Regions from separate parts of the Homo sapiens genome. Here regions 1, 2, 4, 5, 6 and 7 are each linked to region 3. The links are contacts of gene promoters, found by promoter capture Hi-C in blood cells and fetal thymus (Javierre and others, 2016). All regions are on one chromosome and are shown on one strand. Each heading gives the region's core, a stretch centred on a gene start or on the middle of the fragment in contact. The rest is flanking DNA. Distances are from core to core; before and after follow the strand shown.

Region 1 (3,579 bases), core at 351-2,850, 840 kb before region 3:
GAGGCAGAAGGACTGCTTGAACCCAGGAGTTCGAGACGAGACCAGTCTGGGCAACATAGGGAGACTCTGTCTCTACCAAAAAAAATGTTTTAATTAGCTGGGCGTGGTGGTGCACAGCTGCAGTCCCAGCTACTTAGGAGGCTGAGGTGGGAGGATCGCTTAAGCCCAGGAGGTGGAGGCTCTAGTGAGTCAGGATCACGCCACTGCACTATAACCTGGGTGACAGAGTGAGACCTAGTCTTCAAGAAATATACAAAATAGACAATAGGGCTGGTAGGATAGTGGGAACATAAGAGTTTTTCTTTTCTTATTTCTCTAACTTTGGTAATATGTTATTTTCGTAATTTAAAAATAAAATTTCAAATGCAAATTTACTCCCATCCATTAATATCTCTGAGAAAAATCCACAAGTCCTTATTGTCAAGTATATGACTAATACCCTGTTCAGCAGCCCTACAAAAAGGTAATTAAAACCATCTAGAGGCCTGGTGAGGTTTGATTTACTTTTCTGGGAAACTTGGAAAAGATCTTCCTAGTATGGACCTGATTTATCATCTGACTTTGAAGGTTCTCCTTGTGTTTGATTTCTATTAACCATCTCTTCCACATACTCAGCCTCCTTCCCAACTTCCCCATGGCTGAGAGGATATCCCCGCCCAGCCCTCAGGCTCTCAGCCTTTCAACTCAAATGTCACCTTAGAGAAACAGTGTCCATGACCCCTACGGTAGCCACAGGTCCCATTTTGTCATCTTCACTGCATTTGCCAGTCTGTGAAATTAGCTTACTGATTTATCTGTTCCAGTTTTTATGATCTGGCCCCTGCTTTCCCGCCTTTGCACTAGAATATACAGGGACTGTCTGTCTTGCTCAGTGTTTGACAGCCACCCTACCTACCCCACCCCAACTCTACCACACCTAGAAGGAAGTGCTCAGTAAGTATTTGCTGACTTACTAACTCTTAAGTTTTTCCTGATTCCTCTTTCTCCTTTGACCCCAAATCCAGATATAATCACTTATTTACCTATCTATCCTACTCCAGGAGGAGTTTAAGAATAATTGTTTTTGTTTTTGTTTTTTTTAGACGGGGTCTCTCTCTCTCACTCTTGTCAACTAGGCTGGAGTGCAGTGGCGTGATCTTGGCTCACTACAACCTCCGCCTCCCGGGTTCCAGCGATTCTCCTGCCTCAGCCTCTAACGTAGCTGGATTACAGGCGCCTGCCACCACGCCTGGATAATTTTTGTATTTTTCGTAGAGACAGGGTTTCACCATGTTGGCCAGGCTGGTCTCGAACTCCTGACCTCAAGTGATCTGCCTGCCTCGGCCTCCCAAAGTATTGGGATGAAAGGCATGAGCCGCTGTGCCCAGCCAGTTTAAGAATATTTCAATCACTTAGTAAGACCTTTTAATGTAAACTCCTTGATGTCTCTTGACTTCATCCTGATTTATTTCCTGGGAAACAAGAGAGCTCAGGGTTAGACAGTTTGTTCCCTCTAAGTCACTGTAGTTTATGTTAAGTGGGATTAGCTCCCGGTGGTGTTTCACTGAAAACCTGCTTACCGCTTAGTTGATTAACTGCTACTCCACATAACACATTCCTTCCTTATGACCAAATTACTGCCAGAGCCTTCTAACTTCTCTGCACCCACTCCAGTCTAGCTGAGGCCTGAGGAATAGATGGATAAATAACAGTATCTGAGACCTGCTGTTGGTGTATGTTAAATGTTCTTTAAAAAGCGTCAACCATCCCCAACACACGACTCTCCTGAAAGGGAAAGGTATGCGGGTTTGCAGAGGAGGGGAGAGTTGGGTGGGTGATGACGGTCTCAGAATGTGACTCTAGAGAAATCATTTCATCTCTGTTGGAAAGTCCTTGTTTCACTTGCATTGTGTTTTAAGGCTGGGAAGGGGTAGACACTGAGCTCTTTCTAATGCCAAGCCTTCATCAGAAAGCAGCTGTAATATAGAAAAAATGCTTTGCCTAATCCTGTTTTCATGATGGTTTCTAGGCAACCGCTTGATGCAAACTAGTTTGTAAACAGCTGGCAGCTAGATAACCAAGAGAAAAAGGGGCACTTAAAACAGACGGTCAAACAAAGATCTGCAGAAGGGAAAGGCATCATCATGGGTTTTTCACACAGCCCAGTAAGATCACAAGGTCCTGTAACCTCTCCAGGAGGGAAAAGCAGCAGGGGTGTGTGAGCTGTAAACCTGGAAGAATAAACAGCACTCTCCTGATGAATCACAGGGAAAGAGAAATTCTTCATGTCATTCTTCACGGAGGAGACAAGATCAAAATCTTGAGAGGCTACCTCTCTGCATGGGTTTCTGTCTGGTATTCTGAAGTTCCACAAACATAAGTAGAGTCCTGCCCTTTGACCTTGAGATACAGGTTGTACCTGTCCTGTCTACGCATGAGGGATAACTAAAATGACAACTGAAATTGTGAAATGACCCACAGCATTTAATGATCACCGAGAACAAAAGTGTAGGATCTTAGTGCTTGTTTACATTTGGCTTGAATTGTGTATTATTTTTCCTGAAAAAGAAAGACTAGTAATCCTAGGGACATAATCCACAGCTTACAAATACTCTTGCTCTTGCAGGTGGTGACAGCAGATAGCTACCCAGAAGTAGGGGTGGACCCAGGCAGGGGGCAGGGGGCTAGGGATCCTCTCAGAGGTTCCTGTTTGCTCCCTGTTCTAACTATAATGGCCACGGCTTTCTATTTTCAGAAAACTTTTAGCAAAAAGGAAAGAACCACAAAGAAATCATCAGGAGCACTGCAGGCAGCACACATTTAAGCTCTATAAAGGCAGCTTATGCTTGCGTCCAAACTACCCTAGGAGCACTCCTATTTTTTAAAATGAATAACTTTGTGTTGCCAAACTCCCCAGGTCCACCACATGTAAAGTTTATCTGTAACAGCAGCCTAAAGAGTTTGGAATGCTCATGGTATTGTCTGGCCATGAGAGAGGAGGTAAGAGGAGAAGAGGAAGGCATGGAGGCTAGAAAGTAGGAAGACCAGCTGCCCCAGTTGCCTCAGACTTTTCTGGTTGTAAAGTTCCACATCCTGGGATATCTCTCAGTCCCACAGAAGTCGGAACAACTGCCCAACCTACAAAGGAATAGAAAGAAGACTACAAACGTTGCCTAAGCACAAGTGTAATTAGTCACTCAAGACTCCCAGTGACTGAGAACCCAGACCCAAGAAACCAGGTCCTGTAACTGCCAGAGTCTGGGTTCTTATTTAACATAAAACTCTAAAGTTCCCTGGACAGAGCCACTGGTAGAGACACCATTCTCCCACCACGTTAACCTACATTTAAAAGTAAATAATGAATGACCATGATAAACCAATCACTCTCTTGACCCCTAATTCTCACCAGGCTGACCTTTTTATAAGTGGTTACAGATACGCTACTACTTCATCATTAGAAACCCCCTGAAATCCTTGCCCATTTCCATCTTCAATGAGTACAGTAAGAATCCATCCAACAGGTATAGAAAAAGCACGTGTTCACAGACAGTTTCTCTAAGGAGCAAGCAGCAAAGCCCTGGTGGATTGAAGCTGGTCGCA
Region 2 (3,513 bases), core at 189-2,688, 690 kb before region 3:
TATGACTTACGTTGTAACTTCCAAGTGAAGAAAGAACTAGACAAAGGGGTAATTCATTTATTCCGCTACTACTAAAGACTAAACTGCTAGGTAAACACAACCATAGAAAAGTGCCATACAAAATTAATTAATTACCCATTAGCTAATTTACATTTCAAAAGTAAATTGCCTGTTTAGCCCTACTCATAATTAAAGATAAATAAAAAGTAAGATACTAGTTGTCCCTTCATATCAGAAAATAATCAAAATACTTGGTAATATTTGGGGAAACAGGCGCTTTGACACACTATTGTTAGAAACATTAATTTGTATGAGATATGGAAGAGTAGGTTAAATTATTTCATGTCCATCAAAATTCAAATGTACATGTTACATGATTTATTTATATGTGGAACCTAAAAAAGTTAATCACATAAAAGTAAGGAGTAGAATAGTGGTTACCGGAGGCTGAGATTATTGAAGGGAGGGTGCTATGAGGAGATGTTGGTCAAAAAAGTTGTGATTACAGTTAGAAGGAACAAATGTCAAGAGATCTATTGTACAAAAAGGTGTCTATAGTTGATGATGATATAGTGTATTCTTGAAAAACATAAAGAGAGTGCATCTTATGTGCTCTTACCACAAAAATGATAACTATATGAGGTAATGCATTTGTTAATTAGCTAGATTTAACCACTCCACAATTTATATGTATGTCAAAACATCATGTTGTATATGATAAAAACATACAATGTTATCTGTCAAATTAAATAAATTCAAATACACTTATCCATTGACTCAGCAGTCTTACCCTATAGATGTATTTGCACATATATACATGGGTGCACACACACAGACAGATGTTTATTATAGAATTCTTTGTAATTTTTTAAAAACTCAAAACAATCTTCAACAGGATTTTATAAAACAAGCTATGACATATTTGTACACTGAAATATCATATAGCCATTTAAAAAATACAAGTACTGACATAGGAAGATAGCCACAATATTAGACAATTACATCTTCAGAGCTTTTTTGCTACATGATAGAATGCAACTCAAACTTTAGCAAAAAATAAAAGATAATTTATTGGCTTGCATAACTGGAAAGTCCATGAGTAGATCAGAAATGGCTAGACACAGGTACTCAAATGATTTATAAAGAGATTTAGTCCTCTCTCTCTCTCCCTCCTTTCTCTCCACCCACATGGTGGCACAGACAATTCCTAACAGCTCCAGGATAATCAATTACTCATACTCAGTGAAGAGTGAAGATGATCAGAAACAAAGTCTTCTATCAGGGTCTCTATCAATCCCTGATTAGCTCCTGAAGGTCACCCTCATATTACCCACTGTGGCCACTGAGTAGGATACCCTGACCCCAGGGCTATATCCCTATTCCTGTGCTGAAGAAGTTAACAGACAGCTCCACTAGAAGGGGGAAGGAAAGTTCGTAAAAAGAAAAAAGGCGAAAAGATGCTGAATAGTTACATCAACTCCTGACAATAACATTTGCCAAAATGCCTCATCCTAAAAAGTGGTTGACACTCTTTTCCACAATCTTAGAAAGAGATCAACTGCATTACTAATGTGTAGGCTCATTGAAGATTAAAACACATTTTGATGGACTTTTTGAGGACTGAAAATTTTGCTGTTCAAAAATTATAGGAGTGTTACAAGTGACCTTTGCGATGGAAAGCATTTGGACTTTATAGCATCTAGCAAATCGCAATTTTGTACCAGAGAAAATGCCACTCTCCTTGAAATTTTCATTGTAACTAATTATGTTATATTCCATATGTTTCCATAGCCTTGATAATAAAAGAATGGAACTCAGAGGTCACATATTCCAAGAAAAAAACGGATACAGATTTAGAAGGAAAATGAGAATGAAAATCACAGCCAATTCTCACTCTTTAGGGAATAGACTCACCCAATAACCATGAATTTTGCTGGGTATGAAAGCAAGGAGCAACAAAATAATAAATTATGCTCTCTTAGAATGAAGGTAAAATAAACTGTTAGAAATATTTTAAAAGAATGGCAAAGATCAATAAAGCATAAAGAATAAAGGGAAAAATAAATATTTTGATGAAAAAAGAAAAGCAAAAGAAAATAAAAACTATGTAGTAAAAAGTTAAGACTGGGCACAGTGGTTCACACCTGTAATCCCAGCACTTTGGGAGGCCGAGGCAGGAAGATTGCTTGAGACCAGGAGTTTGAGAGCAGCCTGGGCAACAAAGCGAGATCCCATTGCTTTAAAATTAAAAAAAGTTAAGTTAAATCATCAGTTTAGGCTGGGTGCGGTGGCTCACTCCTCTAATCCCAGCACCTTGGGAGGCTGAGGCAGGTGGATCACCTGAGGTCTGGAGTTTGAGACCATCTTGGCCAACATGGCAAAACCCCATCTCTACTAAAAATACAAAAATTAGCCGGGCATGGTCATGGGCGCCTGTAATCCCAGCTGCTCAGGAGGCTGAGGCAGGAGAATCGCTTGAACTAGGGATGCGGAGTTTGCAGTGAGCTGAGATCATACCATAGCACTCCAGCCTGGATGACAAGAGTGAAACTTTGTCTCAAAACAAATAAACAAAAAACCATGAGTTTAAAAACTAGATAAAATTAAAGGTAAACATGAAGAAAGCTAATACGGAGCCAGGATATTTTAAAAGTTAAAATTTTAAAAAAAAGAAATTATACCAGGTGTGGTCCAGCTTTGTTGCCATCATCCACTGGCCTCCATTCTTTGAAGATGTTATCTCTGGGCTCACTTTCACTTTCTCCAACACTCTTCCTCTCATAATTCTTAGTGAATTCAACATCCACACCAGTCGTTCTCCACCCTTATCCGACAGCTCTTTGACTTCCTCTCCCATAAGAATCTTGTCCTATATATTTCAGCCACTAATTCCCATGCCTAGCCCTTGGAAATTGCAATAACAACTTCCTAATAAATCCTCCATAGCCTCAATTTCAAACATCCCCCTCTCTTTCCTACACTAGCAATTGTTCCTCTCTACTGTGTAACTCCCACCAACATTCACATATGTAGTAACCTCCTATCTTAAAAAATAAAATCCAACCTAGACTCACTTTCCTCTCCAAGTATTATCCACTTCTCTCTTCTGTTTCAAACATCTGGAAAGAGAAGTTGTTCTCGCTGCTTCCCATTCCCTTCCCCCACTATCTCTTGAAGCCATTCAAACCAAACTTTTACCCTGACCATCCCACTGGAACAGCCCTTGTCAAAGTTACCAGTGACCTCCACATTGCTAGATCCAGTAATTCTCAGTCCTTGTCCCACTTGGTCTTTCAACCACATCTGATACAGTTAACAATATCTCCTTCTTCAAACATTTACTGAAAGGGAAAACTGTAGGGGAAGCAGTTTGAGAAGAACTATCAGGAGCTCAGTTTTGTAATATGAGATCCTCATTCACTTAGGATAATTTGTGCCATGGGAGAAAAAAAAGACCACTGAAAATTAATCCACATACGACAAGAAAAAACATGACACAGAAATAATGTAGAG
Region 3 (3,847 bases), core at 638-3,137:
TGTGAGGAAAACATCGAGGACAGCATTTGTTCTACTAAGCAGCGTCCTCTCTGTGGGGACCTTGAGTTCCTTGAGCACAAGGGCTGTGTGGTCTTTCTCACCCCCAGGTCCCCACACCGAGAGCCTGGCCTGGCATGCAACTGTTTAATGTTCAACTAGTGGTAATGCCTAAACTGGACTTCTGTGCACTGACTGAAAATCACCCTTCCTAGGGCACGTTGGCCCTATCCCCAAATCCAGGAACATAGGCCACCACTATTTTATATCTTAGAGCCAATTAGAAAAAAGTGCCTCCCCTGGGCTGTTACACTCCACTAGGAAATCTTTCCTTGGGGCTTACTCACGCCTTCTATGTCTTTCCACAGAGCTGGAGTCCACCCCTCACCCTTACCAGGCCCATTCATGCGCAGGAACACTTCCACACATGGCAGGCTGTGTGCACACAGACGATTCCCTCGCCTTTATAGGTGCTATTCCTTTGACTTGAAAAGCCCATCAACTCTAATCTGCACATACAAACTTCAGCACCCAGCCCAAATGTCACTTTCTCTGTGAATCCTTCCCCTATACCTCTCAGGCAGAGTTCATCCCATCCTCCTTTTTATTCCCATCACAGTGGAAGGTACCCCTATTTGAGTCTTGCCAGGTTGCATCAAATTTCTTTCTTCCGGGTTTGGTTCCCTGCTGCACTGTGCTCTCAAGGGGAAGAGGCGTGTCTCAGTCATCTCAGTCTCCAGTGCCTAGGATGAGACCTTTTATATACATGTGGGTCTTCAATAAATGTTTTAGACGGAATGCAGAGCTCTAGTCAAGTTACTCCTCAGCTCAAAATCTCTACAGAACCTTCCCCTTTGCTTCCTGACTTTGTTTCAAATTCCTCTACCAGGCACGCAGAAGCTTAGCCCACAGCTCTCCTCTTGCCTCCCCACCTCACATGCCTTGGCTCACCTGCGCTTCTGGGTGCTGCTGGTACAGCCACCCTCTGACACTTCCTTACCTCTGGACCTTTGCTCATCTGTCCCTCTACCTATAATGCCATCTTCCCCTCTCCCCCTGTCAAAATTCTAGCCATCCTTCAAGGCCCAGGCCAAATGCCATTTTCTTTTTTTTTTTTTTTTTTTTTTTGGAGATGGAGTCTCCCTCTGTCGGCCAAGCTGGAATGCAGGGTCAGGAGCATCTCAGCTTACTGCAACCTCTGTCTTCCGGGTTCAAGCGATTTTCCTGCCTCAGCTTCCCAAGTGGCTGGGACTACAGGCATGCACCACCACACCTGGCTAATTTTTGTATTTTTATTAGAGATGGGGTTTCACCATTTTGGCCAGGCTGGTCTTGAACTCCTGACTTCAAGTGATCCACCTGCCTCAGCCTCCCAGAGTGCTGGGACTACAGGGTGAGCCCCCATGCCCAACCTCAAATGCCATTTTCTTCTTGAAGCATCCCATCAGCAGATGTGGCCTCCACTGTTGAAACCCACAGTGCTTTATCCTCCCAAGCCATTCCTCAAACACGGTTCTGGGGTTGAATGATGCGTGTTTGTAATTAACGCACTTCGACAGCAGGTATCTCCCAACTTCAGCATAGTGGGTGCTCAGTGAATATTGGCCCAAATGGAATTGAGCATCCATGCTACACCTGCAGATGGGAGAGGCAGCAAACTCATGTCCCAGGAACCAGCATGACACAGATCTCTCTTGTCCTCCCCTTGTTTCTCAATAAGGACAATATTTGCGCTCAGGGGAGAAGGGCACAGCTTGCCCCTCCCTTCCTTCCTCAGCCAACGGTTTGGCTTCCCTTCTAGAGAGGTGAGAGAAGGTGTGACAGGCCAAGTTTCCTTTGCTCCACCCCATGGTGTTTCCCCCAAACACCCAGCATAAGTTCACCTCTGGCAGAGTTGCTTTCCAGCTCCTGCAGGTGGGAGTCGACTCACCTGCAGCAGGCACTCGGCACAACTCCGCAGGACCGGCTCACCTGCACCGGGCACTCAGCACAGCCTCCAGCATGCAGCGCCTCCCCGCTGCCACCCGGGCCACCCTGATCCTCAGCCTGGCCTTTGCCTCCCTCCACTCGGCTTGCTCGGCAGGTAGCGTTATGAGCTTTATTCATGGCCAGGCTGGGAAGGGGGAGGGAAGGAGGGAAGAGAGGTGGGAGGGAAAGAAGGAGGAGGGGGAAGATTCTTTGGCCAGGGTTGGTCCTGCGCAAAGGAAGGAGGAAACAGAACTTTCTCATCTGAAGGATTAGGCAGGGGGTGGGAGGTGGGGCTGGGGCAGGGGGGGTCTTAGGTTGGCCTGAGACGGAGATCAGATACTCAATTCCTCAGCTAAGGCAGGAGCAGCCACCTCTCTTGGCCTTTGCCACAAAGAAAGGAAAAAGTTATTTGCTGGAGTCTCACCCATCAGGGGACCAAAATGATATCTCTTGGTCCGCTGTGTCCTGAAGGCTCCTTCTCAGCCCCACTGGGCTGTCGTGCTTTGCAATCCTCCCTGTGCACATTTGTGTCTGACCTTCCCTTTCCTAAGTCCTCCATCCCTCCCTGCCCCTTGTACTTTCTCTGCGACTTTCACAAAACCTGACTGCCAGGAGGGCTGCCATTCACTGTCTCCCACCCTCCTGCCTCCCCGGGCACTGGAAATGCTGGGTTATCTCCCCATTTTCCTGTGGAGGCTGGAAGGCTGATCTACATCCCCTGCCTTGCCCTGCCAGGCCGGGTTCTGCAACTCACGGCAGAGGGACCTTGGTTACCATCTTCTGCTCCTGGCTTTGATCTTGTTCTCAGCCACCTCAGAACACCACCACACTCTCTATGCCCTGCAACACTCCTGCTCCCAAAACCAACCCTGCCCCCAAAGTCCTGTGTCTGCCCCTCTCATCCTCAGACTCTCTTCTGTAGCCACTGCCAGGGGTGTTGGTGTTGAGGTTCAAGACGTGCACTCTTGAGCCGCTGAGCCTGAACCCAGGTCCAGCTTCCATGACTCACTAGCTATGCGACCTCGAGCAAATGACTTTACCTCTCTATGCCAAGTTTCCTCCTTTATCTCATGGGGACAATCATAGTGCTTGTCAAGACGAATTGATGTAATTTCATGTAAAGAACTTAGAAATAGCCCATAGAACACACACAGTGAATGTCAGCAATTATGGTAAGCACATTCATTTTATTTTCCAACTTCACCCCTCCCCAAATAAGAGTGCTGAGTTTCTTTCTACTTACCCCGACAGTGCCTTGCTTATGATGGGAGCTCAGAATCAGAAGACAAGTTTAACTGCACTGAATCGTTGGGTCTTCCCAGCAGCTTTTCTTGTGGAATAGCCCCAAGTAGGGCCAGTCCCTCCCTCGCTTCTGGCTCTGCTTATAAGGGAGGAGGGCGATGTTTAAATTCTTAGGAATTTTCACCGGGGCTATTCCATTTGAACCACAGAAAATTGCTGATATTGAACAATTTTCACCTATAACAATGGCAATTTCATAAGCTCGAACCTAACCCTAGCATTCAGCCAACTAGGGTTTTTTTCCACTCACTTTGGAAGAGGACAACTTCCATTCTAGGTGTAGAGGTGAAATGAAAGTCAGGGCCAAGGAAGTTATTTGAGTCATAAGGAAAATTAGAATAGTGAGGAATCAGTTTCTCCAAAACAAATAAAGACCAGGCTCTAAGCCATTTAGCTGTAAATAATTTACAGTAACAGATTGCATCGAGGCAATTACTATACTTTAAGCAGGACATTGGAGTGGCTTGGGGGTTGGGTGGCATAAAATTAGTCTCAGCAGCAACTTCATGGCTTTAGCTAAACAGCAGGTTTCTTCTGAACTCGTCCTGCTGTGACAACAAGCTCCCTTGAAGGACACACT
Region 4 (3,850 bases), core at 283-2,782, 780 kb before region 3:
TTTCTGGTTGATAGTTACGGGACTTACCATTTGTTGATTCTTTTCCACCTCCATGGACAGCTTCTGGTTTCCTGTCTTGAATTTTCTTTTCTCTGAGCTACCCTACAGAGAATTCTAGATCTTGTGAAAACTGTTTGCCATCTCTTTGGAGATACCTCATACATCCATGCTTAAGCTGTAACCTTAATTAAAGCTTATTGGTTTCACTTGGGAGAATATCTTTGGAAAACAAAAAACAAAAAACAAAAGCCTAAAGGCCAGAGGTGTCAGCTGTTTTTCCCACCTAGAATCTGGTAATAAGGGATTTTAAAAGATTTTTGTTTTTTGTTTTTTTTTAGAAAAAAAAGCTCTATCATTAAAAGTCAGCCTAACTAAATGCTGATATGTATTATATACATATTATATAAGTATATATAATATACAATCATATAATATAACATATATAATTTTTATATATTTTTATATAATAATTTATATATGATAGATATATACATATATTCAGTCAACTGAACTCTGTCTGTCTTCATGCTACCCTCAATGCTCACATGAGAGGGCCTAAGGTAATTTCTGATAGGCTGGGACTCCTTGGGAGAAACAGAGGAGGCACTGCGGACACCGTTTCAGGAGAAGCCTCTGTTTTCCTCATGGAACTCCAAGAATTGTGAGTAGAAAGATCCCTATCAAAATCTAAGGCTCTGTTCCGTTTTGCATTGTGTTACCTGAGCTTTTTGACTTTTAGGGGCATCAGAAATTACTCTGCATTACAGTAGAACTTTCAGCCTTGGTGTGTAATAGCTAGGTAACAAATATATTTTTAGGGATGGCTAATGGCACTTGCTTACAGTGAGTGGGCGTTACTACAGGCTGGTATTTCTTTCTTCTCGCATTTAAACAAGAAGAAAAACATGCTCTATTGGCACCTAGAAGGCATGGAATGGGGGATGTGCCGATTATAAAATGGCCTGATTGGCTTTGGTTTGCCCGTCAGCCTCGGGAGAATGTCCTTGGAGTGAAATGCACCAGTGAAACCATTGTACTGTCTTTTCCTGTATCATTTCCTTCAATTTTGGGGGACTCAGGATTCGGTGTGAAAATGGAATCCTTGGTTTTTGGAAATCTGTTCTGCTTTCCAGTGATGCCTGTTTTTCACACGATTAAATGTTAGGCCCTAGAAACTCCACGCTTTCTCGGCCCTGTTCCTCAAAGGGCTCCACCCTGAAGCCAGTAATCCAATGAAGAAACTTAAAATCTGGCAAATGAAAAGTCTTCAAACTACCAGATCATCTTCTGTCTGTCTGTGTATTTATATGTATTGTGTATGTGAAGTTTATATAAAAGAGCTCTAATTATTTGACTTAAAGAAAAACAAGTGCTTAAATCAAATATTTTGTCAGTAGAATAGGCAATTTAATGCCTTTTAGTTCACATGACTTTAGTAATCTTTGGTAAATAAATATAGTTTTCAAGATTATTGGTAAAATAAAAGATGTCTTCAAAATTTATACATTTGGTCTAAATTAGGCAGGTCAGATACTGTCTGCTAGATGCTTTAATGTCATAAACTGCTTCTATGACAATTTTTTTTTCTTTTGTGACAGAGTTTCACTCTTGTTGCCCAGGATAGAGTGCAATGGTGTGATCTTGGCTCACCACAGCCTCCACCTCCCGGCTTCAAGTGAATCTCCTGCCTCAGCCTCCCAAGTAGCTGGGATTACAGGCATGCACCACCACGCTCGGCTAATTTTGTAGTTTTAGTGGAGACAGGGTTTCTCCATCTTGGTCACGCTGGTCTCGAACTCTGACCTCAGGTGATCTGCTTGCCTCAGTCTCCCAAAGTGCTGGGATTACAGGCGTGAGCCACCACGCCCGGCCGACATTTTTGATAATCATTTGACTTGTCCGCTTTACAGCTAACAGATTTTAGATAGGATTTAGGCTGGGAAGAGTCAGACACTGTCTGCAGCTCTGTCTTACTCCTGAGCTCTACAATCCCGTACGCAGTTACTTACTTACTTACTTACCAGGTCTTTTGCCAAAAATAAAAGTTGCAAAGAGTTAACACTGTGACATGTACTTGAAACTACTAGAGAAACAGTTTAACACACAAGGTCTATAAGGAAAGTAGAGCGTACTTTTGGTAAGAGGTTATAAGAAGGCATGGAAGTATGGCCTTTGTTAAAGGGAATATTTAGGGGTTTTTTCGGTTTTATTTTTCTTGAGACAGGATCTCGCTTTGTTACCCAGGCTGGAGTGCAGTGGCATGATCATGGCTCACTGCAGTCTCGACCTCCCTGGCTCAAGCCATCCTCCAACTTCAGCTCCATGTGCAACTAGGACTACAGACGTGTGCCACCACATCTGGCTAATTTTTTAAAATTTTTTTGTAGAGATGAGGTCTCCCTATGTTGCCCAGGCTTGTCTCGAACTCCTAGCCTCAAGCAATCCTCCCACCTTGGCCTCCCAAATTGCTGGGATTACAGTTGTGAGCCACTGTACCCGGCCAATGTAATTTTGTCTAATTCAGAAGGTTTTAAGGATTGTCCTAACCTAAAAGAATAACGGGAGAAAACTGAAGGTTTAAACAAGCTGTAAATTGTGAAAGATTGATCTTGTAAAGGAAGTTCTGTGAGTATGAGCAAGTTGGCTAAAATTTGAAGGATATTTTTCAATTCGTCTGTAAATTCAGTATTAAAATAAAGCCACACCTAATTCAGAGCCAGAATCTGGGCCCATGTGTCTGGATAACAGGGTATTCTTGGAGCATTGATTTTTTCTTTAACAAAATATTGTAAAGGCTTATAAAAGGTTTATGGGAATTTTACCTTATGGTCAACTAATTAAAATTGGATAGATTTCTTTATAAGGTTTAATGAAGCTTTTTTTTTTTTTTTTTGACAGGGTCTCCCTCTGTCACCCAGGCTGCAGTGCAATGGTACAATCTTGGATCACTGCAATCTCCACCTCCTGAGCTCAAGCAATCCTCCCACCTCAGCCTCCCGAGTACCTGGAACTAAAGGCACAAAACACCATGCCCACCTAATTTTCGTATTTTTTGGTGGAGATGGGACTTCACCATGTTTGCCCAGGCTGGTCTCAAACTCCTGAGCTCAAGAAATCCACCCACCTCAATCTCCCAAACTGCTGGGATTACAGACATGAGCCACCACACTGGGCCTCCTTTTTTTTGGCTTTGAGACAGGGTCTCCCTATGTTGCCTAGGCTAAGTGAAATGGTGAAATCACAGCTCACTGCAACTTCAACCACCCAGGCTTAGGTGATCCTCCCACCTCAGCCTCCCAGGTAGCTGGGACCACAGGCATGCACCACTATCCTTGGCTAGTTTTTTTGTATTTTTTGTGTTTCATCATGTTGCCCAGGCTGGTCTCAAACTCCTGGGCTCAAGCAATCCGCACCTCAGCCTCCCAAAGTGCTGGGATTACAGGTGTGAGCCACCACCCCTGGGCCTTTTATTAAGAATAGTACACTAATGCAAAGATGCAATTTGGCTTTCTCTTTTGAACAAGATTTTCATGTAATTACTAAAAGATAATGAAAGGTTTTTTTTGTTTGTTTGTTTGTTTGTTTTTGGTTTTGCCTTTTAAATAAACAATCAAAAAAAAAAAGAGAAGGGAGAGAGAGAAAAGTCAGATTCGGGTTGGCCTCATGCTGTCTTTATTGGGTCTTGTGTGGAAAGTTGAGTTTTACCCTCTGTCAACAAGCAACATTTTTGCTTTTTAAAAATTTCTGAGCTGCCACCACAGCTACCGCAGCCTCTGGGAGCCTAGAAAAGGGGAATGAGAACAGTGAATGACTCAGTCCCCTGATGGCAGTGGTGGTGGTTGTGGCCAGG
Region 5 (3,724 bases), core at 1,053-3,552, 630 kb before region 3:
GTTTGTTTTCTTTTTTTTCCTCTTTTTTTTTCCCTTTTAACAACATTTTTAATGATATCTTTTGTCATTGCTTAATATTTTGCTTTTATCTAATTAAGTTGCTCAATCTTTTCTTTTTCTAACTCTGGGTTTCATGTTGAAGGAATTCAGGACATGCTACCCCAAAATGTGAAAACTTGGCATTTGAGAAGACAGCAGAAGCAGGAAGGTCACGCTCACTACCTCCCCCACAATGCTCTACTCCCCTGAAACAGATCATAAAACCTAGGAAGGATTTCCTGACCATCCCCTCAAGTAGGTCTTATGACCCTCATGTGAGAGGTGCCCTCCCTATACCCAGAAGATAGCAACATCCTCATTTCTGAAGATACAAGGACAAAGAGAAGAGTTTGAACAAACGGCTTCCTAAGTTCTCCCCAGTTTATTAACATTATGTTACAGTCTCACCAACGCACCGCAATGTAGCAGTCTCTCGTTTGAGGTATCACCCTGAGTTCTCGGTCTCACAACCATGACAATTAAGGAACATGATCACCAAGGGTGAGGTTGGAGTGGAAGTTTAATAAGCAAAAGAAGAAAGTTCTCCACCACAGAAAGGGGCCCAAAAGAGGGTTGCCATTTTTACAGTTGAATGCAAAGGCTTTTATAAGAAACCAGTTAGAGCTGGGCATCTCATTTGCATGAGATGCGAATTTCTGGTAGCTCCACCCCATCCTCCTAATGCACATGTAGGCCCTTAGCTTGAGTTACTCCGTATTGCTTTGTTGCCCTTACTGCACATGTGTCAGGGGATGGAATTTTCCATTACGGGCATGTCTGGGCAAGTCACCTGTGTAGGCTTTCTTATCTGTGTGGCTGTGGGCATGTCTTAGGCAAGTGCCGCTGTGCAAGTTCCCTTATCTGTGCCTGCAGCTTGATTTTTCTGGCTGTTCTTTTGTTTGAAAAGATTCAACCAAGGACCCACCATAACTGCCTGCCTGACTGGTTTCTTCCTCCTTCCTCTCTCAATGATATCATTCTCCCTTTGTTCAATCATATTTCTTCATCAAACCTAGCATAAAGAATATACAAATTTATGCATTTGGGGGAGGTCTTCCTTTCCTTATGAAGGCTTCCATACCACGTATAAATAATATGTGTATGATTTTCTCTTGTGAATCTGTATTTTGTTATAGGGGCCTCAGCCATGAACCTAGAGATTAGTGAGCAAAAATTATTTTTTTCTCAAGTGTTTCTTGCTTGAGATGATTTTCTTATCCCCAAGATTAAAATATTATGTGTTTCTTCCATGATTTTTATGGTGTTTATATCTATTTCTTTAATCTTTCTAGAATGTACTTTTGTACATGCTGAAAGGTAGAATTAATTTTGCAAAAAGGAAAAAGCTACTTGCTACTTTTACTATAATTATAATTATATAATTATTATTAAGGTTTTTTCTTTCTTCTTTCTTTTTTTTTTTTTTTTTTTTTTTTTTTTTTTTTTGAGATAGGGTCTCACTCTGTCACCCAGGCTAGAGTGTAGTGGTGCAATCTGGGCTCACTGCAACCTCTGCCTCCCAGGTTCAAGTGATCCTCCAAACTCAGCTTCCCAAGTAGCTGGGACTACAGGCATGTGCCACCACAATTATTATTTCATTAGACCCTCTCTGGATCTTGTTCCATCTCTAATATCTCTGCCAAATGCTCCGAATCAGGTAGATATATTTAAATTCTAGCTGGTGCAAAGAAGGAATAATTTGAAAAAGAAGAAATAATTTTAATGCACATGCAAGTAATATACGTATTCATCTAGTTACTTGCATGCATTTGTGGCCAAAAGCCATGAATCATATAAAGAAGTAGCTGCAGCCAGGCACGGTAGCTCATGCCTGTAATCCTAGCACTTTGGGAGGCCAAGGGCGGGGGAGGGGGTGGATTACCTGAGGTCAGGAGTTCGAGACCAGCCTGGCCAACATGGTGAAACCCTGTCTTTACTAAAAATACAAACATTAGCTGGTCATGGTGGTGGGTGCCTATAATCCCAGCTACTTGGGAGGCTGAGGAGAATTGCTTGAACCCAGCAGATGGAGGTTGCAGTGAGCTGAGATTGTGCCACTTTACTCCAGCCTGGGTGAAACAGCAAAACTCCATCTCAAAAAAAAAAGTAGCTTCAATGCTGTTTTCAAGATACTTAAGCCAATTTGGTCATACACCCTTATTAGTTGCTTTATGATTAGCTCTCCAAAGCTTCCAGTAATTAGAATTTGGTGACAACCATAGAGACTTCAATTCCAAATGGTATGTTATAATGAAAGCAAATTTCAGACCTCATTCAGCCATGGGTATAAATATGTATTAGCAATCAGGCCCTCCAAATAGTCATACTACCCGTTTTATAAGCTTGATGAAGTCTTAGCTCTCTGACCTTTCAGTGTTCCCACAGAACCTTATGAGCGTCAGAGACAGGAGGACCATGTTCCAGCTTTGGAGCAGGATTAACTAACTCTCAAATGAGAGTCAGGTGAAAAATTCTCTCACTACAGTCTAGAATTTCAAGCCTGGAGAGATAATTCAAACAGTCTAGAATTTCAAGCCTGGAGACATAATTCAAAATGAATAGACAGGCTAGCTGGACTTTTACACCTCATTTATGCAAAGGCAAGAGTATCCATAAGACATTTTTATCCAATCCACATAAAATTGAATTCATTTTACCAGTAAAAAATCATTTCTAACATCCCTTATGCTAATTAACAAACCCCCTGGGATTGATATGAGATAAAGACGACTGGAGCCATAATCTAATCCTTCTGGAATGTGGCTTCTGAATGGAGAATTTCTTTTTTTGTGTGTGAGATGAAGCCTCACTTTGTTGCTGAGGCTGGAGTGCAGTGGCACGATCCCGGCTCACTGCAACCTCTGCCTCCCAGTTTCAAGCGATTCTCCTGCTTTAGCCCCCACCAAGTAGCTGAAATTACAGACATGAACCCAATGCCTAGCTAATTCTTTTTTTGAATTTTTAGTAGAGACGGGGTTTTGCCATGTTGGCCAGGCTGGTCTCGAACTCCCGACTTCAAGTGATCCACACCCACCTTGGCCTCACAAAGTCCCGGGATTACCTGCGTGAGCCACCAAGCCAAGCCTGAACTGACAATTTCAAATATTAACCTACCATCCAGGAGTATATTTTTCCTGAGAGAGTTCAGAAATATCACCCCAAAATATGCAGCATTGGTATGCTGATTACTTCAAACTGAAGTCATTTGGGAAATGCCAAACGCACAGAGGGGCTTTTCCTGAATTTCCCTTATCTGACTAAGTGCAGATTCTCCAGAAGGAAGCCAATTGTCAAGAAATGCTTCCTGGGGATTTTTATCTATCCGTGAAGATTAACACACAACAGAAGTCAAACCTAGAAAAAGCTGGAGGTTAGCACCTCCTACAGACAGGATATAACCTATTCTTCTGAAGGCTGATTCGTACTTTTCATAATCATTTACTCTCCCTAGGTTGCCTACATACTCCCCTTCCCTCTCTCTTATGAAGGGAATATAAAAGCTTTTAGGTCTCATTGAGTTATTGGGTAGTTTCTTAACTTCCATGTGATGCCTTTCTGCATGTTAATAAAATGTATATATATATTTTTTTCTCCTTTTAATCTGTCTATTGCCAGCTTATTTCCCCAGACTTTCAGCCTCAAATCTTCAGAATGGAGGAGAGGACTTCCTTCACCCATATATCCA
Region 6 (3,841 bases), core at 471-2,970, 710 kb before region 3:
AAAATTAGCCAGGCATGGTAACTTGCACCTGTAGTCCCAGATACTTGGGAGGCTGAGGCAGGAGGATGGCTTGAGCCAGGGAGGTCAAAGCTGCAATGAGTCATGTTCATATCACTGCACTCCAACCTGAGTGACACAGCGAGACCCTCTCTCAAAAAAAAAAAAGCATTTGAGCAAATGTAATTAACTCAGACATGGTATTCAGATTTTGTTTAATAAAAGCAAACAAACGTAAATTAAAAAAAAAAAAAAACAAGCTCATAAGGTCACCAATCCAAAAGCCAGCTATGTAGGCTTCCTGGGCAGGCACATTATGCAAGCCTTTTGCTTAATGACTCATATTATAGGAGTCATTTCTTACTATGATAGAGGCTAAAGTTAGCATACAAGGAAAAGGTGGTCAAAACATGCTTTAAATTGTCCTTTAACTTTAATCCTTTAAATTGTCCAAAAAGTACAGTTGTGAATAGAAAGCAATATTTATACGTATACAATGTCAATATGGGCTGTATGTAATAAAGCATACTTGGGCGAAATATTGGTGTTTACTTACGTAAACAGAAACAGTGTGTGCAGCTGAGTTCATGTAATGTGCCATTGCTATTGCCTCATCAGGACTGTCTTCACTGCAGCTCAGCAGCACCTGAGAGGCAATGTGGGGGTGATTAAGAGCCTAGACTGGTGCAAGGTTGCCCAGGTCAGAGGCCCAGATCTGTCACTATTGGCTGAGTTGCCTAGCATTTCTGGACCTCAATTTTTTTTCTCTGTAAAATGGGGATAATAATGTCAACTATTTCATAAAGTTGTTATGAGTTCACATTTACAAAGCACTCACACCGAACCTGGCACAAAGCTAATACTATGTATGTTTGTTGAATAAAAGTAAATTAAAATATCATCAGCCTATGCCCAGGAATGAAAAAGAAAGTAAAATAAATATCAAACAGAATTTCCACTTAGATGGGATTGCAATAGGAACACCAAAGAGACCCAGAGTAGCAATCAAAACACACGTAACACATTTTTCCACTACTCTCTTCATGTTAAATTTTCTCTGTGTTTTTAAGGCAAGAAAAAAATCATTGTCCAACAGAGGAAAAAATCAGATATTACCAATTTTGCTTACCCTTTCTTGTGACCAAAAAAAGTATGATTCAGGCCGGGTGCAGTGGCTCAAGCCTGTAATCCCAGCACTTTGGAAGGCAGAGGAGGAAGGATCACTTGAGGTCAGAAGTTCGAGACCAGACTGGCCAACATGGTGAAACCCCATCTCTACTAAAAATACAAAAATTAGCCAGGCGTGGTAGCAGGTGCCTGTAATCCCAGCTACTTGGGAGGCTGAGGCAGCAGAATCGCTTGAACCCGGGAGGCAGAGGTTGCACTAAGCCAAGATCAAGCCACTGCGCTCCAGCCTCAGCAACACAGCAAGACCCCGTCTCAAAAAAAAAAAAAAAAGAAAAAAGAAAAGTATGATTCTAAACTTATATCCCCCCAAAAAAATCTGTGAGCAAAACTGATATTCCAAAAGATGTACTAATTTGTCCTGTGGGTATAAGCAACCTTGGCACCGTATGTCTCAGACACTTAAGGGTACACATGCTCCAGTAGGATCAACCAAACCTTGATCCTTCATTATGTAATGCCTTAGCGAAAGAGTAATTTAATTGCTCTGGGGTCTAAGTAGGACCAAATAAGAACAAAAGATCAGTGAAAGCAAATCTAAATCTATGCACTAATTTAAAATTTCACCAGGCTTTCACACCACCTGTCACAATGTGAAGGACCCAGTGAAGCCACACGCATAACCATATTCCTTGCTCATTTTATCAGAGTGGCATGACAATAAAGTATCACGCTAGGTCAGGACATCTAGAACATTGTGTAACCCTAGTTATACAATGAGGAAAAATGCAAGCACTAAGCATCAGGAAATTCACCCGGAAATGGGGAAGACTGCCATCAAATTAGGTACTCTGTGGTCAAGGAGGATCTGTAAGTCTCTTGTGGTAGATTTGCATAAAATTATGTCTGGAGATGTGAGGGTGATCTGGCTGTAACATATGTCACCCCATTAGTCACCAGGGCTAATTCAGCTGATCTGGCTGTCTAGGCAATTGTACCTCTTGAAGCTGCACTCTCAGTGGAAGAGGACGGCTTTCCCTGATGAAGGAGGAGGGTTTTTAGGTCAAGTGTATGTGAGTAGCTGCACTCCCCTACTAGAACCTCCAAACAAGCTCTCAAGCTAGGCTCTGAGTGTCAAGAGTTTTATCAGCTCATCCTATACTCAGATGACACTGCATCATAAACATATTTTTGTGAAATGAAATGTGTGAATAAAATGTGTACAAGCGGCTAGGCACGGTGGCTGATGCTTATAATCCCAGCACTTTGGGAGGCTGAAGTGGGCAGATCGCTTGAGCCCAGGAGTTAAAGACCAGCCTGGGCAACATAGTGAGACCCCCCATCTCAAAAAAAAAAAATGTGTACGAGTGTTTTACAAAGAAAAAGGGGCTGCCTTATCGTAAAAAGCGTGTAGACATTAGTTAATTCTCCCTCTTTGATTCTTTCAGCTATGGGCTACAAATCATGTCCCAGAGATGGTCCGCCCAACCCTGGAGAGGACACTCAGGGTCCTCCAGCTAGATTATGTGGATCTTTACATCATTGAAGTACCCATGGCCTTTAAGGTGAGTTCAGATGCCCAAAGGTCAGGTCTCTGCACCCTGGCAACCATGAGCCAATAGCTATGTGCATGAAGCTCTGCACCATGAGCCAATAGCTATGTGCATGAAGCTCTGCACCATGAGCCAATAGCTATGTGCATGAAGCTCTGCACCATGAGCCAATAGCTATGTGCATGAAGCTAGCGTATTACTTGGCACCACAGAATATTGTGGTGTTTTGTTACCACAGATCAGAGAGTACTGACCTAGTCTGACAAATACCCGAGAAGATTATGTTAGCAGACTCAGGCTTGGTTTCCAAGTTTCTTGATTTTTTAATTCAATGCAATTTCTATTATACCATGTTTTTACAACTATAGTTTAAGCTCTCTGCATCAAACCAACATGTAGTCCTCTAACTGTAGCCCACCATTGAGACACACACCCTTCTTCCCACTCACACAGTCACAATCTCCGCCCTCATCCTCACTTTGTTAATGCTGACTCTTGTTCAAATGTCAGATTTCTAACCTAAGTCTTAAAAATTTAGAAAGACCCAGTGTACAATTATGTGTTGCTTAGCAATGGGATACATTCTGAGAAATGTGTCATGAGGTGACTTTGTTGTTCTGCAAACATCATATAGAGTGTACTTACACAAACCGAGGTGGTAAGGTTTTATTTACCATGGTAGACTGCATTACTTTTGTAATAACATGAATAAAACGCAAACACGTTGTGCCTAAATGGTATAGCCTATTACAGACTTAGGCTAGATAGCCCAGCCGATTGCTCCTAGGCTATAAACCTGCACAGCATGTTACTATTCTGAATACTGTAGACGATGGTAACACAATGGTAAATATTTGTGTATATAAACATAACATAGAAAAGGTACAGTAAAAATATGGCATAAAAGATAAGATACACCTATACCTGGCACTTACCATGAATGGAGCTTGCAGGATAAAAATTGGATGAGTCACGGAGTAAGTGGTGAGTGAATGTGAAGGCCTAGGTCATTACTGTACATGACTGGAGACTTTATAAACACTGCACACTTAGGGTACACAATGAATCACATAATATTTTTTCTTCAATAATAAATTAACATTAGCTTATTGTAACTGTTTTCAGCTTATAAATGTTTTAATTTTTTAACTTTTTGATTCTTTGTA
Region 7 (4,095 bases), core at 257-2,756, 730 kb before region 3:
AAGGAGAAAATTATAATTTGTGTTTTTCTGTAAAATGACTCAGTCATTTTTTCTCACAGATGTACCTTTTTTAGCACTATAATATTCTATTAGCCCTCATTCCTTTGGACATGCTTTTAAATTATTTTAACAAAACAAAACAAAAAAACCCTCACAGCTTAAAAGAATTAAAAGTTTCTACTAATTATTGTTTCTTGTTATGGTGTGTTTTCAAATATTGCCTGGAGAGAACAAACATTTGGGTAACTATTACCTGCCTCTAGAGACTGTCTCATGTTTTTATACCTCCTCTTCTCTGAAAACTCTTCATTTTGCATTCCCCAAATTTAAGCCCCAAATTCAGAAAAATAAGAGGATATGGACAATGCAGTTAATTTACAGCTGGACTTTCCACCTGTAAACTCTTTGTCTCTAGGTCTCCTGGATGACATTTTGACACTCAGACAAGATAAGGGCAGTTTTATGATATGCTGGTTAAAGGGTAAAGCTCCCCCTGGTGATCCCGCACCCCCAAGGTCAGTTTCTTTACTGATGATGTGCAACAGGTCAAACCAGCTGAGTTAGCTAGGCTTGATTATGTGGCTCAAGAGAGAAAAATTCCTGCTGGGAAGCTTGGTTTTGAGTTGTAGCCTAAGCTAATGTATTCCTCACACAGATCTTGGCGGTTCAATCTGGAAACTTGGTGTGCTGCGTGTGAATACAGATGCTGGGAAGCTTAGCCTGGGATGCCATCTCTCTGACCCCTAATGCTTGGCTGAACTCTTCTGCTGCACTCGGTCTTTCCTCTGTAAATCACAGCATTGCATCACTATACGCTGGAGTCTGGTGAGTACTCACAGATGTCTCAGCTTGGAAAATCTTTTCAGTGAAGATGTCTTTTTATGACTAAGCTATCATTAAATTTCTCGAAGGGTTCCCTAGGTACCACAAAGATTTATTTTAAAAATAAGTAAAAATAATCAGATTTGTCATTCTCCAAATTTTCACCAATTTGAAACTATTGTGCAAAATTTAAGATGAAAGACGGGTAGCTTGATAAATCACAGCAAAAGTTCACCTTTCCAGATTAATTATGTATAAGTAAAATACATTAATACAAATATGTACCCATCAGTTTTGTACTTTTCAGGTTAAAAGAAATATACCTATGTTTAAATAGGTATATAATAGTTATATAATAATAGTTATTAATCATAGTTATATAATAATAACAACTGCCAAAATAACTATTAAAAGACTTTTTTCCCAGTATTTTAGATGTAAATATTCTTGTCAATTGTAAACAATTACAATGCACTTTATGGGATAAATTAAATGCCTTGGAGATAGACTATGGCATCATTGTTTGTCTCTCCTTCATATATAACTATCCACAGCTTTAGTACCTTGGACCCAACAACTCTCCTTCCCTACTCAAGCAAGAAAAATGCCTTGATTATTTAACCTGTATTAGGAAATTGTCAGTGCCCTATACAGACCTTTGTATATTCCCTTTGTATGGCAGGGGTTAACCTCTATTGACCTTCTTATTTGGAGATAAGGACAAATGCTTATCTCCAGAACTGCCTAGAGAATGACATCGACTCTTGTCAATACTAGGGAATGTATTAACTAAATATGTATTAATTAAAGGTAAATGATATTACATAACCATGGATCTGTGAGTTGTTTTCAGGGTAGCATGTACCAGCCTGTCAGCAATATTTAGTATTAATAATTGCATTTATAATTTCCACTGGTTTCGGTGGAGCTTGAGGGACTAAGTCTGGTCACATATTGGAATATGTCTATGCAACTAGCTCACTGTAAGACACACCCTCCTTGAGCAGGCTCTGGGCTTTCTGGTACCAAGGTGCTCACACAGGTCACTGGTGTTTTAATACCTGAAGACAAAGCATAATCAGAACAACCATGTGGTGTGAAAGTAAGGAAGTCTTCACCTGAGATCTCTAGACACTCCCAATGCATTTTCTTCTCCTGCTATTGCTTTATTTGTTGCCTGTAATAAAGTATAAACTGGGTCCTATGGATCCCTTCAGGAATCAAACACTTGATAAAAATAATTAATGTACCTTTTGATAACCCTAATTGAATGATGTTCATTGGTAGTTCATACTTAAACATAAAAGCTGGAGATTGTCAGGCAAGCTATGCTATTACTGATTCGAATTCACTCTTGGCATATAAGCCTTTCTCAAAAGTCAGTTGACTTCAGATAACTGAGTTAACTAACCTCAAGTGGATCTGCCAGTTAGCATAAAATGAAAGAGCAATTATTGGTCCAATCAATATTTCCCAGCAAGCTTTGGTCATTCTTTACTTATTTTTAGGATGGATTGAGACTTTTTCTTGCCAGACCATCATTAAAGACTTTGAATGCTTTTCCTTTTACTCAAAAACTGTATTGTTCTTATACCCAATCTTCAGGAAAATGTAGAGAAAATAAAGGATTACTAAAACTAAAAATTGTCAAAGTTCTAAGAGTCACTGGAACTTACATGTAAGTTCCTACAGTATTCCATTTACCTTCATGACATAGGCTCTCCCCTTAAGAGTTAATAACAGACCATGCCATGCATTTCAGAATTTTGCTCTGATCCTAGTCTTTGCCCCACTGCAAGTTGACATAACTAAATACTACATCTTATCATTAAACGGATACAAGCTGCCTTTTCAAAGTAACCATTTACACAATCTTTGAGCCTGAAACCTGGAGATTTTGTCTTCTGGAAGAGAAAGCAAAGGAAGATTTGCCTTGAGCTTTGACTAACAGGACTGTATCAGGTACTGTTACTAATTAACACTGTGGTGAGACTCTAAGATAGTAATCCCTGCATTCATATTTTCAGTTCAAAAGACATACATCCTTTTTCCTAGATCAGGGGACTTCCATTTCACTGGTAGACCTCAAGCTGAGAATTCTTTGAACTCTACCAGAAGCAGACAATCCTCTAAAGTAACAATTGATTCAAAACCCTCCATTGAAGCTAATGATTATGTAAACTAGATAGCTTTTACTAAAATCTCTGGAACAAGATTAATTTTAAGATAATTTAATACACTTTTCCTTTTGATTTTTTTTACTATGGATCTTGCCTAATAGCATATGTTGAAGCTCTCCAGTGACTGGGTCAAGAGTTCTCAGTCTGTTCTCCTATACATTTTTTTTTAAACTTCTAAGCCTCTGTGGTCTTTTCTTGTGGCATTTCAAGAGAAAGAAAACATTCTTATACATTTTTCTCAGACCTTAGTTACTGCTGTAAATCTGATTGGTGGATCAATATCCATTTGACCCCGCTGGGGGAAACATATGTCATAGATGTTTCTTTAAATATTGTCAAGATAGATGTTCTTATACAAATTTCTTCTAGTACTGAAATGTCTCTCACATTATGAGTCCCAACCTTCAACCTTGTAAAAATTGGACTTTACCTCCACATTACAAAATACATCTTATTAGATCATTAACTAAACCCAGGAACTCCGCTCCGCTCTCTGCAATGGTCAGTTGCTCTCTTCAGAGTCACTGTATCCTGCAGGAATTATTTAACTTCACTCAGAAAATATGTCCAGCATTAGGGTCCAATGATTAGTTCTCTGTTTTGAAGATACATAATGTTTATACTGTCCTTTGAGTCCATGCCCTACCAAAATACTATTCCTTATGTGTACACTACCACTGGAAACGCATCAAACAGTTTAAATTCATTACGCAGGGTCTGAATGGATAACAACATATTTCATCTTGATTTCCTCTTCACTAACCAAGAGGGAGTTTATGCCAGAACAAACATACATATCTACATATGTATTTGCATACCTTGGTGCAAATACATATGTACAAGAATAGACTCTGCTGGATTTTTTAGCGCATTTTTGAGATCTGGGTTTGGTTATCTAGTCCAGTGGATGAACAGTCTTCTACAAAAGTCATAATAATTTCTTTTTCTGGCAAGTGCCTGTATCACAGTTGTTCAATGCATCCTGTCTAGATTCTTAAGTGCTACTGTGTAACCACTTTTACATTACATGATGCAAACACTCATTCTATAATATTTGGTTGCTGCAAAAGTAGTTGTGGTTTTTCCCATATAA

The links. The method cuts DNA at HindIII sites, captures the fragments that hold promoters and counts their contacts. A CHiCAGO score of 5 or more calls a contact.
Region 1: the fragment with the promoter of CREB3L2-AS1 here is called in contact with the fragment with the promoter of TMEM213 in region 3 in 1 of 17 cell types (fetal thymus); the score reaches 6.3 in fetal thymus.
Region 2: a contact is called between a fragment that was not itself captured here and the fragment with the promoter of TMEM213 in region 3, in 1 of 17 cell types (erythroblasts). The highest score is 7.1, in erythroblasts.
Region 4: a fragment that was not itself captured here is called in contact with the fragment with the promoter of TMEM213 in region 3 in 1 of 17 cell types (erythroblasts); the score reaches 6.4 in erythroblasts.
Region 5: a fragment that was not itself captured here is called in contact with the fragment with the promoter of TMEM213 in region 3 in 2 of 17 cell types (total CD4 T cells and total CD8 T cells); the score reaches 5.3 in total CD4 T cells.
Region 6: a contact is called between a fragment that was not itself captured here and the fragment with the promoter of TMEM213 in region 3, in 1 of 17 cell types (erythroblasts). The highest score is 5.8, in erythroblasts.
Region 7: a fragment that was not itself captured here is called in contact with the fragment with the promoter of TMEM213 in region 3 in 1 of 17 cell types (erythroblasts); the score reaches 9.2 in erythroblasts.

Annotation. Positions count from the first base shown.
Region 1 is chr7:137,951,748-137,955,326 of GRCh38, forward strand. CREB3L2-AS1 (CREB3L2 antisense RNA 1) reads left to right here and starts at 1,601. Exons shown (of 4, transcript NR_161346.1): 1 at 1,601-1,777; 2 at 3,501-3,579. All of the region lies in intron 1 of CREB3L2 (cAMP responsive element binding protein 3 like 2), which reads right to left. The HindIII fragment of the contact is 9,042 bases long and covers 1-3,579 here.
Region 2 is chr7:138,108,195-138,111,707 of GRCh38, forward strand. The region is part of intron 7 of AKR1D1 (aldo-keto reductase family 1 member D1); the gene reads left to right. Among named protein-coding and RNA genes, the nearest start is that of MIR4468, 14 kb to the right of the region's middle. The HindIII fragment of the contact is 4,177 bases long and covers 1-3,513 here.
Region 3 is chr7:138,796,107-138,799,953 of GRCh38, forward strand. It overlaps TMEM213 (transmembrane protein 213), which reads left to right and starts at 1,888. Exons shown (of 3, transcript NM_001085429.2): 1 at 1,888-2,080. The coding sequence starts at 1,999. ATP6V0A4 (ATPase H+ transporting V0 subunit a4) reads right to left here and starts at 2,090. Exons shown (of 22, transcript NM_020632.3): 1 at 1,928-2,090. RefSeq lists a silencer at 1,858-2,152. The HindIII fragment of the contact is 4,060 bases long and covers 896-3,847 here.
Region 4 is chr7:138,018,289-138,022,138 of GRCh38, forward strand. It overlaps LOC124901752 (a long non-coding RNA gene), which reads left to right. Exons shown (of 3, transcript XR_007060551.1): 3 at 2,899-3,625. Among named protein-coding and RNA genes, the nearest start is that of CREB3L2, 18 kb to the left of the region's middle. The HindIII fragment of the contact is 2,682 bases long and covers 192-2,873 here.
Region 5 is chr7:138,164,102-138,167,825 of GRCh38, forward strand. It overlaps LOC107986749 (a long non-coding RNA gene), which reads left to right. Exons shown (of 3, transcript XR_001745033.3): 3 at 143-1,384. Among named protein-coding and RNA genes, the nearest start is that of MIR4468, 42 kb to the left of the region's middle. RefSeq lists an enhancer at 1-913. The HindIII fragment of the contact is 153 bases long and covers 2,227-2,379 here.
Region 6 is chr7:138,089,198-138,093,038 of GRCh38, forward strand. AKR1D1 (aldo-keto reductase family 1 member D1) reads left to right here. Exons shown (of 9, transcript NM_005989.4): 3 at 2,571-2,687. It also overlaps the pseudogene RN7SKP223. Among named protein-coding and RNA genes, the nearest start is that of AKR1D1, 15 kb to the left of the region's middle. The HindIII fragment of the contact is 6,515 bases long and covers 1-3,841 here.
Region 7 is chr7:138,064,491-138,068,585 of GRCh38, forward strand. It overlaps LOC124901753 (a long non-coding RNA gene), which reads left to right and starts at 519. Exons shown (of 2, transcript XR_007060553.1): 1 at 519-825. The HindIII fragment of the contact is 1,589 bases long and covers 713-2,301 here.